Linked DNA regions of Homo sapiens: region 1 is linked to region 2. Evidence: promoter capture Hi-C in 16 types of primary human blood cells and fetal thymus (Javierre and others, 2016). All regions are on one chromosome and are shown on one strand. Each heading gives the region's core, a stretch centred on a gene start or on the middle of the fragment in contact. The rest is flanking DNA. Distances are from core to core; before and after follow the strand shown.

The links. The method cuts DNA at HindIII sites, captures the fragments that hold promoters and counts their contacts. A CHiCAGO score of 5 or more calls a contact.
Region 1: a fragment that was not itself captured here is called in contact with the fragment with the promoter of CDKN2AIP in region 2 in 4 of 17 cell types (megakaryocytes, naive CD4 T cells, total CD8 T cells and 1 more); the score reaches 5.7 in megakaryocytes.

The regions. Positions count from the first base shown.
Region 1 is chr4:183,672,483-183,679,310 of GRCh38, forward strand. It overlaps TRAPPC11 (trafficking protein particle complex subunit 11), which reads left to right. Exons shown (of 30, transcript NM_021942.6): 6 at 2,231-2,330; 7 at 2,682-2,755; 8 at 4,976-5,072. It also overlaps the pseudogene RNU6-335P. Among named protein-coding and RNA genes, the nearest start is that of TRAPPC11, 17 kb to the left of the region's middle. The HindIII fragment of the contact is 204 bases long and covers 2,764-2,967 here.
Region 2 is chr4:183,442,950-183,450,329 of GRCh38, forward strand. CDKN2AIP (CDKN2A interacting protein) reads left to right here and starts at 1,687. Exons shown (of 3, transcript NM_017632.4): 1 at 1,687-2,120; 2 at 2,586-2,716; 3 at 3,139-6,115. The coding sequence starts at 1,849. The coding sequence ends at 4,478. RefSeq lists a silencer at 1,162-1,711 and an enhancer at 1,992-2,141. The HindIII fragment of the contact is 3,011 bases long and covers 411-3,421 here.

The DNA.
Region 1 (6,828 bases), core at 1,616-4,115, 230 kb after region 2:
GTCTTGACTAGATTTGTCGTTTATTTATTTATGTTTGTGAAACTGGTTATAAGGTTTTCTCCAAATAAGCCTCAAATAATAAAGAAGTGTATGAATTAAAAAGTGGAAGCCTTACAACACTTATGCTCTATCCCGTGATGTCTCTGTAGCCTGTTACGGTTAAAGCGAGGGAAAGATTTGACTCTGTATCCCTCAGTTTAGAGGAAATAATAGCACTTACCAAGCCTACTTACTCTCAGTCTTCTGTATTGACTGTTTAACAGGTGTTTTATCTCTAAGTACACATTCAGCTTGAAAACTAAAACCACACTTATCTTTGATATTTACTGAGACAATCTAGATTAATAATACTGATTCTCTATTGAGAAGGATTTTTTGTTTTTGTTTTTTGAATCATTCAGAATAGTCTGTAGACATATTTCTGGCTACCATAACATTAGATATTCTAGTCAGTGCCTTGTTGCTACCCGTTCGCAAATTTTTTTTTTTTTTTTTTTTGAGATGGAGTCTCGCTCTGTTGCCCAGGCTGGAGTACAGTGGCGTCATCTCCGTTCATTGCAAGCTCCGTCTCCTGGGTTCATGCCATTCTCCTGCCTCAGCCTCCTGAGTAGCTGGGACTACAGGTGCCCACCACCACACCTGGCCAATTTTTTGTATTTTTATTAGAGACAGGGTTTCACCGTGTTAGCCAGGCTGGTCTTGATCTCCTGACCTCGTGATCCGCCTCTGCCTCCCAAAGTGCTGGGATTACAAGCGTGAGCACTGTGCCCGGCCCCCATTTGCAAAATTTAAAGGATAGCTTAGGTTAATACATTCCTTCACACATTATTTGGTTCAAGGTTAGATTCTAATTTTGTCATATTTTAACATTTTTAAAACTACAGTTTTGAAAATAGAAAAATCTTAAAAGGCCGGACATGAGGGTTTATGCCTGTAATCCCAATACTTTGGGAGATCGAGGCATTTGGATCGTTTAAGTCCAGGAATTTGAGACCAGCCTGGGCAACATGGTGAAACCCCGTCTCTACAAAAAATATAAAAATTAGCTGGGCGTGGTCATGTATGCATGTAGTTCCAGCCACTCTGGAGGCTGAGGTGGGTAGATCACTGGAGCCCAGGAGGCTGAGGCTGTGGTGAGACTTGATTGCACCACTGCACTCCAGCCTGGGCAACAGAGCGGGACCCTGTCTCAAAAATGAAATGAAATGAAATGAAATAATGAAATGAAATGAAATGAAATATCTTAACCTAGAAAATCAAATATAAAATATAATAGCTGATATTTAAGTTCGTCTTTTATCTGGCTATGAGTTCTGCTTTCTTTCACGCCCTAGGCAGATAACTCCTGATAACTTCTTTTCACCAAAGAAAGCTTGAGTTGTGTATCCATCTCTGGTCAGATTTTCTTGTTCCTATGTAAGTTATAGAATGATGGAGGATTTAAATCACACAAATGTTTTCACCTTATTTGCCAGTTCTCATTTTTGGTTCTTTCCCCATTAGTTTTCTTATTCTTTTAAATCCTAAATACTAAAATCACCAAAAAACTGAAATCTAATTGATTAATAATTTTTTTCAGACTTTTTATAAAAATATAAAATAGTAGGGGCGAATGTGCTTTTAGAGATTCCAATCAAATTTTAGGCCAGGAGCGGTGGCTCACACCTGTGATCCTAATCCCAGCACTTTGGGAGGCCAAGGTGGGCGGATCACTTGAGGTCAGGAGATCAACACCAGCCCTGCTGGCCAACATGGTAAAACCTCACCTAAACTAAAAATATAAAAATTAGCTAGGCATGGTGGCACATGCCTATAGTCCCAGCTACCTGATAGGCTGAGACACAGGAATCGCTTGAACCAGGGAAGTGGAAGTTGCAGTGAACCAAGATTGCGTCACTGCACTCCAGCCTGGGTAGTGACAGAGCCAGACCCTGTCTCAAAAAAAAAAAAAAAAAAAAAAAAAGATTACCAAGTTTTTATGAATCAGAGAAAGGTATTTTTATTTGTTGTATCCTGTATTATAAATAATTTTAAATGGCTTTTGGATGGTCTTGTTTTTAGACTTTTTGATCTGAAAATTCAGGTTATCTTTTGCTTCACTTTGTCTTATTCATAATGTAAAACAGATATTTCTGTCACCATTTTACTTTCAGGTCTCACAAATATTCTTGAAAAGTTTGGTTTAAAATAATTCAATATGTAAATGCTTGTTTGTTTTTGTTTTTTACAGATTGGAAAATGCCTTTTATGAACATGCACAGACTTATTACTACACTGAGATCAGAAGAGTGAAATCTCATAAAGAATTTTTGAATAAAACAACACACCAGGTGCGTGATTTTTTGCAATAATAGAAGCATTCTGGAGCGGATTATTATTATTTTTGAGGTGATTATTACATGTTCTTAATACTTTAATGTTTTAAATGGTTTCAGCATTTCTAAAGTTTTTTTCAATGCTTTTAAAAATTAATTTGTTTTTAAATTAAACTCTTTGCTTTTAAAGTTCTTAAAGGTAGATTTTTATAGCCTTCTTAATTGTGCCTTTATTTGTGGGAATAATTCTTGTATTTCAGTTTTGAATATTTTTCTTCATTCTTTTATGTCTCCTCATAATAAACATTATAATTTTCACATTTTAAATAGAATATGTATAATAGTAATTTTTTTGTCTCTTTTTAGCTTTTATTTGTTAGGCATCAGTTCAAAATAGCTTTCTTCAGTGAGTTGAAACAAGATACACAAAATGCGCTGAAGTAAGTTAAGCTTTCAAACTAAATGTTTCCTATTTTTATATTAACAATAACATGTGATGGAAATTTCTGAATCTCAGCCAAAGTATAATTAAGTTTAAAGTGTTCATATTGCTTAGATTTAGGAATTAGTGTAGAGATGAATGGAGTATAATATTTTAGGATTTTTAAAAATTTTCATTTTATTATTGGAAGTAAATTTCATTGTGTCATAAAGCTTTCTGGTTTGATTAATTAAATTTTATGAGCCACAGAAATGTAATATTAAAATTTTCCCCATCTTCTTGACTTTATTTTGTGTATACTCTGTAAAATTCTTGTAAGAGGCTGATTTAAACATTATCTAAATCGGACTTTGTTTTTCCAAAATAAATTTTTAAATGTGCCTCTTCACAAATTTGCATGTCATCCTTGCGCAGGAGCCACGCTAATCTTCTCCGTGTTGCTCCAATTTTAGCATATATGCTGCTGAAGTGAGCACCAGACTATTGATTTTTATAGGTTTATACACTAGTACATTTATTAAATTCAATTTTTTAAATTAAATTTTAATGTTATCAGTCAGTTGCATCATTTTCCATTTGAAGTCTCTGCTTAGAGCCTTGAAGATTAGTTGCAGATGTGTTGGCAGTGGTTAAATATTTTAGTCCTTTGCTTTTACGAAGCAGAATTCAATGAAACTTGACCTCTTTGTAGCTTTAACTCACTTTTTGAAGACAAAGGTATTAAAAACAGCTATTTATCCCAAAATTGAGGAGGGCAAAGAAAAATAGAAATAAATAAAAATAATTTTATTATTCACAGGAATATTGCAGAAACATCTTATTTTTGTTGTTGTTTTGAGATGTTTAAGTACCAAAGCACCAAGTTGTGTTTCCTGAATCTCAACAACTTCATATAACTGGCTTTAATGTAGTTCATTTTTTTTTTTTGAGACAGAGTTTTGCTCTTGTTGCCCAGGCTGGAGTGCAGTGGCGCGATCTCGGCTCACTGCAACCTCTGCCTACTGGATTCAAGTGATTCTCCTGTCTCAGCCTCCCGAGTAGCTGGGACTACAGGTGCCTGCCACCACGCCCAGCTAATTTTTATATTTTTAGTAGAGACAGGGTTTCACCATGTTGGCCATGCTGGTCTCGAACTCCTGACCTCAGGTGATCCACCCACCTTGGCCTCCCAAAATGCTGGGATTACAGGTGTGAGCCACTGCGCCTGGCCTGTAGTTCATTTTTATCGATGGTATTAGTTTAAATCCTTCAATTTCAGTTCTGTTCAAAAATAATTCTGGAAAGAAATACATTTACCTGGAAAAGTTATGAACAAACTTTTTCTATGAAAAGCCTGTTTTGAGATTTCCTCATTTCCTTCCATGTGCAAGGTAGGCCCTGTTCCCAGCAGGCCCTCCTTTCTCACCATGCTTCTCCTTCAGCGTGAGCTGCCCGAAGGACATCTTTCCCTGCTCTGTAGACTTTACCTGAGGCCAGTAATATTCACTTAACCTGTAGAGGTACTTGGGGTTAAAAAGCTGTTGACCTGTGCTGCTGTTTTTTTGAGATGGCATCTCCCTCTGTTACCTGGGCTGGACTGTGGTGGCACGATCTCAGCTCACTGCAGTCTCTGCCTCCTGGGTTCAAGGGATTCTCCTGCCTCAACTTCCTGAGTAGCTGGGATTACAGGCTTGTGCTACCACACCCGGCTAACTTTTGTATTTTTAGTAGAGACGGGGTTTCACCCTGTTGGCCAGGCTGATCTGAAACTCCTGACCTCAAGTGATCCGCCCACCTCAGCCTCTCAAAGTGCTGGGATTACAGGTGTGAGCCACCGTGCCTGGCTGACCTGTGCTGTCTTGATACCACCTTTGCTAATAAAATTTCTATTTGTTTGAGAGCTTGTAATGGTACTTTAAAATACTTATGTTTTTTAACAGAATGCTGATTTTTCTGGACAGTTGTCCAATTTCCTTTTTTAAGTTATCTGTTTGTTACTGACAGATGTTAATGACAGGAAGAACAACGCACATGTCATGGTTCTGTTCTTTATGAAATCATTGATTCCTCTCATATATTTAATAACTAATGGCTCATTTATCAGGAAATCAGAGATTGACATTATTGAGCTGTTGAGCACTAAAATGTTGAGTAAATATTCTTTGTTATTTCTAGTGATTTGGTTCTTAGAAATCGTTTATTAAACTAATTTATATCATTAACCACCCTCCTCATTTAGGAATTATAGGACCGCCTATAATCTTGTACACGAATTGAGAGCCCATGAAACTAATATTCTGGAAATTAAGACTATGGCAGGATTTATAAACTACAAGGTAATAATTCTGCTTCCAAATACAGGGAATTTGTGTTTCAATATTAAATTATCTTTTTAAAATTTGAACATCAAAATTAATTTCTTGCTCTGAAAAGTTAGTATTTGATTAATTATGATCTCCCCTTTTATATCCTTTTTCTCAGAAGGGCATCGATTCTTAGCAGGCTATTTATAGTAGTTGTATTTTGAATTGATAAGTTCTAGAGGTTTTAAAAGTTTGGAGGGTTTTTTGGTTTTTGTTTTGTTTTTCAGTGGGAGCAAGGAGGAGTTGAGAAGAAAGCTGCCTGTATTACTGAGTTTTAAAGGATAAAATTATTAGAACTATGTGACTTCTTCTTGGTTTAATGGCACAGAAAAGAAGTGTCTATTCACCTTAGAGGAAACTTTTTTTTTTTTTTTTTGAGACGGAGTTTTGCTCTGTTGCCAGGCTGGAGTGCAGTGGTGGGATCTCGGCTCACTGGAACCTCTGCCTCCTGGGTTCAAGCAATTCTTCTGCCTCAGCCTTCTGAGTAGCTGGGAGTACAGGCATGCGCCACCACACCCAGCTAATTTTTGTGTTTTTAGTAGAGACATGGCTTCACCATGTTGGCCAGGATGGTTTCGATCTCTTGACCTCGTGATCCACCTGTCTCGGCCTCCCAAAGTGCTGGAATTACGGGTGTGAGCCACCACGCCCAGCCAGAGGAAACTTTTATACCTACTGTTTGAGCATTTTATTTTGAGATTGTCTATCACAGGAATAGGTGCCCTCAGAAGTCAAGCAACGGCTGTTTGGTTTGCTTTTAGTTTTTTCACATTCATCTTAAAGATGCCTGACTCTGTGTTGGTGATGTATGGCCAAATAGATACTTTAATTCGCTGTTTTTTTCTAATAGGAAAAGATTAGAAACAACCCAGTTGTAAGTGATTGGTTATATAAATTATAACTGTAAACAAAGAAATATTAAAAGCTGTTGAGAATGAGGCCGCTCTATGTAGTGATATGGAATAATACCCAAAATATATTGCAAGATGAATAAAGTCACAGATTAGCATATTTAGTGTGATGTTGTTATTTGTATAAAAACAATAGTTTTCTAGAAAGGCATACACATACTTATCTGTGTGTAGAATATATCAGGAAGCATATGGCAGAAACTGATTGCCTCTAGAAAGGGAAATTAGATGGCTGAGAGACAGGAATGGATGAGAGACTGACTTTTCATGTGTTCCTTTGTACTTAAAAAATAAAAGTGAAAATTGTAACAAGCATATGGAAATAAATTTAGGCTTTGTTTCTTCCTTTTTTCCTTTTGCCCCAAATACATACATATTAGTACTATTTTGAAATAGCATGCCAGCCACAAAATTTTCAAGAATTTCTGTAATACTTGTTTGATATGGAGGTAACTTTGCTTTAATTATGCTACAGAAAATCTTTAGCTTTATGACAAGTCTAAAACTGAAAATTGATCTATCTTATCTCAATTACCTGTTGGACATAGTTTATTTTAGTCCATGTTCTTCATTGGGGATAATTTTTAAATTCTGTTCCATATTTTTTAAAAGCTTTTCTAAAGTGTAGAATAAATTATGTACAAATAGTGAGTTATTTTATTTCATTTCTAAAAGGGATATATAACCTTTGGTTTTAGCATAACCATTCTGATGAGGAAAATTAATTGTATTGCAAAGAGCTTCAGAGAAGGAAATTTCATTGTCTTTTTCTAATGTTATTCTCAAAATAGTTTTTAAATGAATATGTCTTTTGACTT
Region 2 (7,380 bases), core at 437-2,936:
GCCTCGGCCTACAGAGTAGCTGGGACTACAGGCACGTGCCACCACACTTGGCTAACTTTTGTATTTTTAGTAGAGATGGGGTTTCACTACATTGGCCAGGCTGGTCTCGAACTCCTGACCTCATGATTCGTCCGCCTCGGCCTCCCAAGGTGCTGGGATTACAGGCGTGAGCCACTGCACCTGGCCGTGAGAACATTCTTGATTTAAAATGCACATATATAATCTAGGTATGCGATCATAGCTTCTTTTACTTGCCATGGTCCCCTTGCCAAAGAATTCATGAAAGGAGAAATCGTAATTTCTCCACCTTTTAAATAGCCAGATTTCTGCAATCCGTCCACCCCCTCTAGATTTTCAGCAATTATCTGTGAAAAGGAGGAAAGAACAGCAAACTAGAAGCAAAATCACAAAGCTTCAAAATTTCTTTGTGCCTCCGTTTTTATGTAGTTTCTTTTGGTATGGCAGGAAAATGGGCAATATTGTTTTCATACAATAGCTGTATTTTGTTCCAGCATGCACATAAATTACACAGTTAACCTTATCTGATCTTACCTAAAGTGACCTTTTTTTGCTTGCTTATTCTGATTCATGCATTTTTACATCAAAGTCTACATTTATTGAAAGAAAAATTTCATAATTTATATCATTTAACGTATTTATCTTACAGTGCATGTATACCTGGAATGGGAAACGTAACAATAAGCCAGCCAGCAGTTAGAGTACGTAACTGTGGGAAATGTAAAGTGGAAAAAAATATATAGAAGGAAAAAACAGCTCTAACAGGGAGAGAGGTTTGGGGCCCTATAGATAAATAGGTACATTTCCACTCCACCTCCGGACATCTGCCGGTTGGTGGTAAAGCTGTTGATTTTAGGAAATTCTAGAGACAGAGCGTTGTCGGGGTGTTGTTTTCCTACTGACCAGAACAGGAAGGCAATGCCTGGATTAACTAGAGACCTAATAAACTGCGGGAACAAGCCCTACCGCTGCGGGGCCAGGGCCAGCTTCGAAGGCTGCAAGCCTCACGGCAACACGGAGCCAGGTCCTCGTGTGACCTTACTGTCTACTGCTGCTATGTAAGGGGACTGGCACTCCCGCCCTCCTGAAGGCGCGGAGACCCCGACGGCCTCGGAACGCTTCGCTCGGGCACACTGAAAGCAGCGCGAGACGCAGCTCCCAACACTCTAACATGGAGGCCGGCTTTTGTTTGTTTTGGCCCCGCTCACACACAGGCGTCTCAGGGCGGAGACCACAGGCCCCGCGGCTGCGGGCGGCTCAAGGTCCCCCGGGACGCCCCCCTAGCGGACTTTGGCCGCCGCGCCCGGCTGCCTCCCTTGCCCGGGCCCTGCCCCTCTCGCCTCTGCTCCCGGCGCCGCAGCTGACCCGGCGGGGGAGGAGGACGGCAGGAGCGCGCGGCGTCACAAAGCGAGGACAGAACGCCCGGGGTTCCGCCGAGACTCGGTCGTCCCAGGCCAGCTCGACTTGCAGTCCGCCCTCGTGGGGCGGGAGACGCCCGACGCCCGCCCACCTCACCCCCGGGGTGCCCTCCGTGGCCTCACGGGGACGCAGCGTCGCAGCGGCCCCGGCGCCGCAAAGCGTCTTGGGAGCGCCGGCTCGCGCCGGAAGAACGCGAGGGCGCGCGGCGGCGGCGAGGTTATAAAAGGGAAGAAGCCGGCGGTGGGCGGAAGTGGGCGGTTCGGCGGCTCTGGGCGCTGTTGTTTGGTCTTTAGGCCTGCGGAGGGGCGTTATCTGGAGGGCCGCGGGTGCAGGCCGCAGTGACAGGGCCGCTCGCCCCGCTAGTCCTGCCTGTCTCCCGGTGCAGCTGTGTTCGCGGCCTGCAGGCCCAACATGGCGCAGGAGGTGTCGGAGTACCTGAGCCAGAACCCGCGGGTGGCAGCCTGGGTGGAGGCGCTGCGCTGCGACGGCGAGACTGACAAACACTGGCGCCACCGCCGGGATTTTTTGCTTCGCAACGCCGGGGACCTGGCCCCCGCTGGCGGCGCTGCCTCCGCTAGCACGGATGAAGCTGCCGACGCCGAGAGCGGGACCCGAAACCGGCAGCTGCAGCAGCTCATCTCCTTTTCCATGGCCTGGGCGAACCACGTCTTCCTCGGGTGCCGGTGAGTGAGGCAGCGTCCCTAACCAGCACGCCTCGTTTTGTGTGCCACCTGCAGACCGGGGCCCGGCGCCCTCCGCGGGACCGGCCTCGGCGGGGAGGGGAAGTTGTGAAGCGCGGGAATCCGCCGGCCCGGCTGCCCTCTAAGGGGGAGAAGGGCGTCCCTGCGAGGAGCCGACATGATTCCCGGACGTCTGTGTGCCCGGTGGTGTGGGCGCAGCTGCTGGTAGGGTTGCTTGTGTTAGGGAACAACGCTCTTGGGGACGGGTGCGAGATTTAAGATTAGTGAGGAGGTGCCCTGCCTCCCAGACCCTGGGGCACTTGTTTATGGGGTTCCAGGAAACAGTTCTTGGCGGTTGGTTCACTTTCTTGATTGCAGCCAGGAAATGCAGTCCCTGTGGCCTGTTTTTTGCACAAGTAGGACCTTAGAAAAAACACTTTTTAAAAATGACTTTTCCTTCTTTTTCAGATACCCTCAAAAAGTTATGGATAAAATACTTAGTATGGCTGAAGGCATCAAAGTGACAGATGCTCCAACCTATACAACAAGAGATGAACTGGTTGCCAAGGTGAAGAAAAGAGGGATATCGAGTAGCAATGGTTAGCAGATCATAGATGTGAACATACATAGGAGTTTAGAGCATAAGTTTGATATAATTAGGAATTATTGTTACTAATTTTTTTAACAAGCCAGAATTTTTATGTTATTAATAAGTAATAAAGTTGGAATGTTAAACCTAAAGTATATATCTGTGTCTTTAGGCTTTGAATTTGATAGTTTGCTTTGACTGCTTTAGATTTTGAAGTGTCCACTGTTGTCTGATGCTGTTATTTTTTTAATATTAGACATTCATGATGTTATTCAACACTGTTTTAAGAAATTAATGACTCCACACTTTTTAAAGAAACGATTAGTCTTGAAATGTTTTCACTTTGTGCCTTTATTTTAATGTGTATTTGTCTCATCACCCGTTTTGTACGAGGTATTCTTAGTCACATATCTATGTTTTTCTTCTTTTTAGAAGGGGTAGAAGAGCCATCCAAAAAACGAGTTATAGAAGGAAAAAACAGTTCTGCAGTTGAGCAAGATCACGCAAAAACCTCTGCCAAGACAGAACGTGCATCAGCTCAGCAGGAAAACAGTTCAACGTGTATAGGGTCGGCCATCAAATCAGAGAGTGGGAACTCAGCTCGGAGCTCTGGCATCTCCAGTCAGAATAGCTCTACAAGTGATGGAGATCGATCTGTTTCCAGCCAAAGCAGCAGCAGCGTTTCCTCTCAGGTAACAACGGCAGGATCTGGGAAAGCTTCTGAAGCAGAAGCTCCAGATAAACACGGTTCTGCATCATTTGTTTCCTTGCTGAAATCCAGTGTGAATAGTCACATGACCCAATCCACTGATTCTAGACAACAAAGTGGATCACCTAAAAAGAGTGCTTTGGAAGGCTCTTCAGCCTCAGCTTCTCAAAGCAGCTCAGAGATCGAGGTGCCCTTGTTGGGCTCCTCAGGAAGCTCAGAGGTAGAATTGCCACTATTGTCTTCCAAACCTAGTTCAGAGACAGCTTCAAGTGGGTTAACTTCCAAAACTAGTTCAGAGGCAAGTGTTTCATCATCAGTTGCTAAAAACAGTTCCTCATCAGGCACATCCTTACTGACTCCCAAGAGCAGCTCTTCAACAAATACATCGCTGCTAACTTCCAAGAGCACTTCCCAGGTAGCTGCATCACTACTAGCTTCCAAGAGCAGCTCCCAGACCAGTGGATCTCTGGTTTCCAAAAGCACTTCCTTAGCAAGTGTGTCCCAGTTGGCTTCTAAGAGTAGTTCTCAGACTAGCACCTCACAGTTGCCTTCTAAAAGTACTTCACAGTCAAGTGAGAGTTCTGTCAAATTCTCTTGCAAGTTAACCAATGAAGATGTGAAACAGAAGCAACCTTTTTTCAATAGACTATATAAAACGGTGGCATGGAAGTTGGTAGCTGTTGGTGGCTTTAGTCCCAATGTGAATCATGGAGAGCTCCTAAATGCAGCTATTGAGGCTCTGAAAGCAACACTGGATGTATTTTTTGTCCCACTAAAAGAATTGGCAGATCTGCCTCAAAATAAGAGCTCTCAAGAAAGTATTGTTTGTGAATTGAGGTGCAAGTCTGTGTATTTGGGCACTGGCTGTGGAAAAAGCAAAGAAAATGCAAAAGCAGTTGCATCAAGAGAAGCATTGAAGTTATTTCTCAAGAAAAAGGTGGTGGTAAAAATATGTAAAAGGAAATACAGAGGCAGTGAAATAGAAGATCTAGTACTCCTTGATGAAGAATCGAGGCCTGTAAACTTACCTCCAGCACTAAAACATCCTCAAGAATTACTATAATGTGTCCAAAATATCACTGCATACAATATCTGGTATTTGAAGAGAAAAACTGACTTTTGTATAGTATAAAACACAGGCTTTCACAAATTTTGTATTGCTTTTTTTCCAGTTTTGCAGAAAATTTACATTCTAGTTCTCTTCACACAGTAGCAGTTGTAAATAATTTATGAATGACAGTACACATTAAAAGGTATGCATTAGCAGCATATTAGTATGCTGTTTTATTTGCTGAAGAAAATACTGTCTTCTATTTTTAATGATACATTAGGTACGATGTGTAGTTCGGTAGAGTCCTAAAATTTTTGTACTACTTTCAATTTGGTGAAAATGTATTAAGTTGTCTACCATGTTTTCTTTTCTAGCTGAATAAACCACATCAAAGGAAAGGGACCACAGTATTTGAATGTTTGAAAGTCTGTAAAGCTTAAGGTTTTAAAAATGTTGCCCGTAATGTTGAACGTGTCTGTTAAAAAATAAAAGAAAAAATAGTTGCTTCAAACTATTTTTATGAGAAGTTGTAAGCATTTTTTAGATATAAAGCAGTATAAAGTACTTGTTATTTTACTCTGAAGTTGTTTAAAATTCACCATGACTTTGACCGCTGAAGATTCTTTAAGCGGGTTAATTTATGTTTTGAGGTGGAATACAATTTACACTTTTTTCTTAAAAACATGAATGTGGGTTTCTATATTAAGCATATTTTGTGACTACTATTAACAGATTGATTTGTTTAGATATTAAATGCTTTAAGCTATTTTACCTTTTCAAGAAGTTGTGTTTTTTTTCTCCAAGTCAGAACCAATTCCTGCAAATAGGCTTCCCATGACTTGTCATTATAAATTAGACAACCAGGTAATTGTGTGATATACATCTTTATTTAATTTTTTTTTTTACAGCAATCCCCTGAGCCAGAATAGATTAAAAGCGATTCCCTTCAATTTTCAAATCTAGAACTGGATGGTTTTTGTGTTTATGCATCTTTTAGAATACCGGAAAGAACAGAGAGCCGTGTTCAGCTCTTGATAATGAGCCTATTCAATTTAACTACATTCGTTAAAATGAAGTGGAATTTTGTTTTCGTCTTAGGTGATTCTGCCTGTTTGTCTGTCATTGTATATTCTGTTTACTTTGCTTCAAACTGGCCCCAAGATGTTATTTTTGTGGTTTCTGGCTTTCTAGATTCTATTTTTAGATACTGCCCATTGAGCAATAATGGTGATAATATAGAGAGAAAAGAAAGACCTTTCATGGGCCAGTTGTGTTGGAATAGGAAAATCAAACGTAAGCACAATTTAAGTATGTAGCAGTTATTCCTATTTTGTATTCTAGGAATAAAAAGATACTTTAATTTTTTATGCTAGAATTACATAATTACATAATCAGATGTTTTAATTTTACCATATAACCTTTAAAAATGATTCATTTTTGAGGATATTTAATTGGATACCAAAGCTAAAATCCATATACTGTAAGTGGGTTGCCTTTATAGATTGCGGGACACAATAACATGAATGTATTGTGAAAGCACTTTTAGTTACCTCACTTTCCTCAGTCTTGGAATGTGTATTTTGTGGGATAATGATTATCAGAAAAGCAAAAAATTACAACGAACAAATAAATTTATATAATATATCCAATTAGGTGGTTTGGTAATTTCCTAAATTGGCTTGTTTCAAGTTACTATGAAGGTTATTGAGAATGTTTTATAGTGACTTTTGATGTGGAGGAAGTTGTTTAGTGTACATTTATGATAATCCTATTTAAAAACCTAGAAAAATGCTCTTGGTTAATAACATTTAAAGAATCCTGGTTTAAGAGAAATGCATATTTTAGAATTCTATTATTGAGAGTGAATCTTGGCTGTCTCTTACTAGACATGTAACCTCTGGGAATTTAACCTTTTAACCTTACTTCGTCTGTGAAATAGGACTAATAGCTGTCTCATAGAGCATGGCAGTTAGATGAGATGATACATTCAAAGTGCCCGGCATGGTGCAGATATCCCATGGTTCACTTATATATTCTTATTCCTCTTACAAGGAGCTCTTCTCATTTGGCCTACTTTTCAGATGGAGAAACTTACACAGAGTAATTCGGTCAGATAATTCAAGCCCATATCTGATTTCAAAACCCAAGCTCAAGTATGTTGTACTGCTTATTATCCTTGTCACTTCTCTATATGCTGAAATTTCTGAAAATCCCTCCCAGAACGTGATTTTTTACCAGATTAAGTGACCGCATCTTTCTAAAGCCTCCTTGAAATGAGTCACTTCAGAGGCTCTTCTATTATTAATGCTTCTAATACTTGCATATCTTGAATATCCTCAACTAGTGAATCATCCCATATGGATGCAGTTGAACTTTGTAAAAAGACCATACACACACAAAAGAAATCTGCACAAAAAACCCCCCAAAACCAAAAAACCAAACACACCTGCCTAAAATAGTGTATAATCAAGTTGAGTGAATAAAGTCGGCTACCAAGATGGGATATACTGCTTTTTTCAGATGAGTGAGGGGAGACGATTTCCTGAGACATCAAGATTTTTCTTGATGTTAGAATGAGATTTTTTTTTTAATGGTAAAATTAGTTGACTTGTAAGAATGATACTGTCATGAGTTTTTGACCTAAATTCTTGGAGCCTGTCACTGCTGTCATTGGCTAGGATAATTGTCATAGGGATATGTGTAACTTTAAGGCCTTTGATATGTATTATCAGGAGCCTGCTCCAATTTGAATTATGTTTTCCCTGCCAAGTGCAGCTTTTCTTGGTACAAATTTCTACTTGCTGTTTAGATTTTTGAGTAACAGCAGTGAGAAAGTAACAAAAACAAGCCGCAATTGGGAATCAGGTCAGTCCTACAGGTATTGTGTTACTACTTTGTGGACTTTGTCCTCAAA